2 separate regions of the Homo sapiens genome follow, and region 2 is linked to region 1. Evidence: promoter capture Hi-C in human tissues and cell types (Jung and others, 2019). All regions are on one chromosome and are shown on one strand. The core of a region is centred on a gene start or on the middle of the fragment in contact, and the rest is flanking DNA. Distances in the headings are between cores, read along the strand shown. Region 1 holds the start of PSMA8 (proteasome 20S subunit alpha 8). Region 2 has its middle 54 kb from the start of LINC01915.

Region 1 (2,700 bases), core at 7-2,506:
GAGGAAATTATTCTTTTTTTCTTTTTTTTGGTTAAAGTTGATTTCACCAACTTTAAGATCCTCCCCAGTGGAAAACTGCATATATTAAACAACACATGGAAAGCAATAATAGCTAAACTTACCTGGCTATTACTGCCCACCAGGCACCATTTTATGTAATTATGCCCATAAACACATATTAAGCTCAGAATACTCTGCTGCAGATTTTTTAATATTCCCATTTTATTGATAAGGAGAAAGCGACAGAGTTGTTTCATAGTTAGTAATGTAGCAAGTTGTAAAGAGTTTCTGCTATAGCTAAATTTCCAGACATCTTTTAAGTCTCATACTTTGGGCTTTTACAAAATTTCTCCAATTAAAAGAATATTATCTGGGCCGGGCGCGGTGGCTCACGCCTGTAATCCCAGCACTTTGGGAGGCCGAGGCAGGCGGATCACGAGGTCAGGAGATCAAGACCATCCTGGCTAACACGGTGAAACCCAGTCTCTACTAAAAATATAAAAAATTAGCCGGGCGTGGTGGCGGGCGCCTGTAGTCCCAGCTGCTCCGGAGGCTGAGGCAGGAGAATGGCGTGAACCCGGGAGGTGGAGCTTGCAGTGAGCCGAGATTGCACCACTGCACTCCAGCCTGGGCGACAGAGCGAGACTCCGTCTCAAAAAACAAAAAACAAAACAAAACAAAAAAAAGAACATTATCTTAATTCTCATCATTAGCTTAGTTTGATGGACTATTTGCTTTATTTAACGGACCATTTGCTCATCTGCTCTATTTTGCTCACAAGGCAGAAAATATCAGAAGCAACAATATTTTGAAGTTTGCTTTCTTTCCTTCGGTTCAAATAACAAGAGTTAACCTGAGAGAGAGAAAGAAAAAGTAGGAAATTTAGAATTTGAAACCAAAGGGAAGGGACTGATATTTAACTTACCACAGTTTCTCCAACATGTATGCGATAACAAAAATATCTGATATTTGAAGACCTCATTTTTAAGCCCTAATCTTTGATATTATTTTTATAACTCGAGTGCCGTGACACCATCCCTGGGGCAACACGGTAGTGGGGAAATGGAGATATGCGCTATGCGTCAGACATGAAGGGTAAGGGAAGAATGCCGTCAACTCACAGGCACTGCTTGGGTGACAAAGGCTGGCAAGCGCGAGGACATCCGCAGGCAGCCAAAGGAGCAAGGACTTCCGTGAAGCAGCCGAAGCGCGGGCGCGGGGACTTCCGGGAGGCAGCTTGAGGCGCGTGTGGAAGCGCTTCCGGGCGGTAGCACGCTGTGTTGGCGGCGGCTCCCCGCTTGCCTCAGCTGCAGCAGCGGGAAGCTCGGTGGCAAGCCCTTGTAGTCCTGTGCGATGGCGTCTCGATATGACAGGGCGATCACTGTCTTCTCCCCAGACGGACACCTTTTTCAAGTTGAATATGCCCAGGAAGCGGTGAAGAAAGGATCCACCGCGGTGAGGAAGCAACTATTACCGGACTATTCCCCGCTCTGACCTGTCAGGCCATCGTTACCCTGCTGCCCCAGCCCACCTTTCCATCCTAGGAGCTCAAGAGAGGAGATTCCCACACTTGTGAAAATTACTTTGTTCTTTTTATTTAGGGAGACAGACTTCTAGATTTGGGCCGGAAGTGGGCAGAGTAAAAGTTAGTAGATTTCCCCTATCTCTGCTGTTCAACTGCCTCTGTTTCATGGTAGCTACAGACGCAAAACTAGGGTGTGTGTGTGGGTGTGTGTGTGTGTGTGTGTGTGTCTCTGTGTGTGTGTGTGTGTGTGTAGGGACGTTAATGATGTGATTGACAATAGGGAAAGCTTCTAATCTGTAACAGCCTACCTATTGAACGCTCGTGGTCCAGTTCCTTGGTAGTTCAGAGACCCCTGGAAAAGTTAACAGTTGCTTCATGTTGGGAACTGTTTTTTAATAACAGTTACAATAAAAAATAAAAGTTGGCCACACCTGCTCCCCAAATACGGACTAAATCAATATAAAATTAAACTTTTGTTGATGAAGAAATGATTAAAAACACAGTTCAAACACACGCGTTAAAAATATCCCAAAATTGCTGGGCGCAGTGGCTCACACCTGTAATCCCAGCACTTTGGAAGGCCCAGGAGGGCGGATCACCTGAGGTCGGGAGTTTGAGACCAGCCTGACCAACATGGAGAAACTCCGTCTCTACTAAAAATACAAAATTAGCCAGGCGTGGTGGCGCATGCCTGTAATCCCAGCTACTCGGGAGGCTGAGGCGGGAGAATCGCTTGAACCTGGGAGGCAGAGGTTGCGGTGAGCCGAGATCGTGCCATTGCACTCCAGCCTGGGCAACAAAAGCGAAACTCCGTCTCGGGAAAAAAAAAAAAAATCCCAAAATTGTCCCAATATTTCCCAGCCTTGTAGAGGCTCAAAAGTCCAAGAACTTCCACTTTTTTGGCCACTTAAAAAATAATGCTGGAAGTTCCTTGAGAGATTACACCCTACCTTAGATTTATGTATCCACATTACTGAAAAACTTAAAAAATACTCAGGGTAGGAGTAATACTGCTGCCAAGTTTTAACTACGTTCAATAATTTTAGTGATTTATAAAAATTAAAGAGGACAAAAGTGCCCTAGTGACACAAGATCTATTACCCCAAATCTTCTAAGGCCTAGCCTATGAATTCAAAGGATCGGATATTTTTATTCTCTCAATTTCATGAGCATGT
Region 2 (2,700 bases), core at 96-2,595, 1.5 Mb before region 1:
TGCCAGTCTTCTGAGGCTGGGGCCTCAAGAGAGCTGCAGCTTCCATTTTTACTGCTTGGGACATGCCCTCTTGGAAGCCAGCATCCATGCAAGATGTGTGATTAGCCTGAGATTAGTATGCTGTGAGGAAGCCCAAGCTAGCTGTGTGGAGAGAGTGAGAGAGAAACTGGCCACCAGGGAACACTGAGGTGTCAGGCAGGTACATGAAGCCTTGTTGGAACTTCTAGCCCAGTTGGGCCACCAGCCAATGCTGCAGGGAGCAGGACTATTCAGCCTATCCTTGTCTGAATTTCTGTCCCACAGAATTGTGGGCAAGTAAAATAGTTATTTTCTAAGCTTCTGTGTTTTGGGGTAGTTTGTTACACAGCACTAGGTAATCAAAAGAATTGGCTCGTACCACCCACCATTTCCCCTGAAGGAAAGTTTACTTTGGAAACCAAATCGACTAATGAATCAGAGAATCAGGGCAGAAAGAAATGTTCTCAACGAGATCCAGGACTACATTTCTCAGGCTTCGCACTTGATCTGGGAATCGTCTCTTCTTGCCGGTCTCAGAAGGCATTGCCCTCAATTTTTCTCCTCATGAGTGCCATTTTCCCATTGTTATAAGGTGGTCTTGTTAGTTCTTCTGATTACTCTAAGTTTTACATCAGATTACAACCGTTTTGTGTCAGGCAACTAGTAGGCACTCAACAAGGTCATTTGACGAAAATATAAGGAACTCCTGCATTGCCGTGCTAGGCACTGTGGATGCAAGAACAAATATGTCATGGTCCCTGCCCTCAAAAAGCTTATAATTTATTACGCGGAGAAAAGTCGTGTTCAGGTAATTATAATTCAACCCTATGCCATGATGGTTTCCTGAGACACATGAGTGATTATTTCCGGCTTGGTAGAAGATTTCCTAGTGAGAATGATATCAGGCCTTGGCCTGGGAGGGTGAGTAGGAGCTCGGCAGGAAGGGAAGTTTTTCAGAGTCATCCTACTAGAGGGAGTACTGAGAATGAAAGTCCCTGAGCTTGGGAAACTACAAGGTATGAGGCCGGGGCATAGCGAGAATGAGGGAAGATGGGATTGGAAAGGTAGCCTGTGGTCTGATTATGCCAGTTTTTTTGGATACTCACTCCTTAGCCAATGAGTTAGAAGTTTGTCTTGTTGAAATTGGTGAGCTTTGGAAGGTTGAGGTGAGAGGAGATCACATCTGTGTTCCTATGTCATGGGTTGTGGACCGTCTTTCCCGTCTTATCACATGTACTGGGACTCTTTGTTAATATAAAGTTGATATTGTAGGAAAGGCACAAATGGATGAGTAACTCAAAGCATGACCCTAGAGGAAGGTGGCTTGATGACCCAAGGAGTAGCTTATCACTTTACCAGTTAAGAATAGAGAGAATTAAGATCTAGTGTTAAATAGGTCAGTAGGGTGGCCATAGTTTGCAATACTCCATTGTATATTTTAAAATAGATAGAAGAGAATAATTCAAATGTTTCTAGCATAAAGAAAAGACAAATATTTAAGGTGGTAGATATATCAATTACACTGATTTTATCTTAACAAATTGTATGAATGTATTAAGTTATCACATGTACCCCCAAAATGTATGCATCTATCATGTACCAATAAAAAAAATAGGGGAAATATATTTAGATCCTTTTGTTTGACTGTCCAACTCTTAGGAAGTGTAACATCTGCAGGGTGCAAGGAAATGTGACTTTGGAGAGATGTTTTTTCCTGGCCTCAGAGAACACAGTAGGGTCAGTTCCCAGAGCACTCAGAAAGGTTTTTGTGGTGAGGGAAAACTGCAGTTTCTCTCAACCTGTGTTGTGTGCCAGAGATGATTACATATCCTCTCAATAACACAGTAAGCATTGCTTCTTACCAAATGTCCCCTGTAGCCTGAGTTTATCTCAAAAGAATTCTCTGAGATCTTAGTAAGCCGCATTTATGAAAAACTTTGCAGAATGAATATTGTCAAGCAGGCTGCTGTCTTTGGCTGTTTTGTTGTGAAAGGTGCTGAGGACTAGAAAATGAGGTTATCAATCTGGGCTCAGCCACTGACCTGCTGAACTCTTAACCCCAGGAGTAAACCACTCATTCACATGGTTACAGAGTTTGATAGGTCTGTAGAGGGCCTACTATGTGTCAAGCACCGTGCAAACAATGAGTGGTGCTCACCTTGCTAGTGTGGAGTGAGCAGTGCAGTGAGGGACAAAGGCAGGGAGCACCAAGGGAAGGTTCTAGATGGTTGCTTATTGAACAGGTACGGCTGTAATGTTCCCTTTTGTGATTTTGTTGAGGTGGAGTCTTGCTTTGTCACCCAGGCTGGAGTGCAGTGGTGCAGTCTCAGCTCACTGCAACCTCCGTCTCCCGGGTTCAAGTGATTCTCCTGCCTCCCTTTTGTGATATTTATCTTGAGTTTCCATATAAGGATTATGCTGGCTTTGTAAAATGATTTGTGAAGTTTTCTTGTTTTTATGCCATGGGATATTTTTATTTATTTATATTGATATATATTAGATGTACATATTTTCTGTACCTTTGATTATTTGATACATTCATTTAATCAGATCAGGGTAATTGGGATAGCCATCACCTTAAATAGTGACATTTTCTTTGTTAGGAACATTCAAATTATCCTTTTCTGGCTATTTTGAGATGTACAATTGATGAATGTTAATTACAGTCACTCTATTGATCTA

Evidence for each region. Contacts are between HindIII fragments. The study calls those that stand out against the background at their distance.
Region 2: a contact is called between a fragment that was not itself captured here and the fragment with the promoter of PSMA8 in region 1, in 1 of the 25 tissues and cell types used here (dorsolateral prefrontal cortex).

The regions. Positions count from the first base shown.
Region 1 is chr18:26,132,613-26,135,312 of GRCh38, forward strand. PSMA8 (proteasome 20S subunit alpha 8) reads left to right here and starts at 1,257. Exons shown (of 7, transcript NM_001025096.2): 1 at 1,257-1,455. The coding sequence starts at 1,354. The HindIII fragment of the contact is 10,391 bases long and covers 1-2,700 here.
Region 2 is chr18:24,680,480-24,683,179 of GRCh38, forward strand. No RefSeq gene overlaps it. Among named protein-coding and RNA genes, the nearest start is that of LINC01915, 54 kb to the left of the region's middle. The HindIII fragment of the contact is 5,054 bases long and covers 1-2,700 here.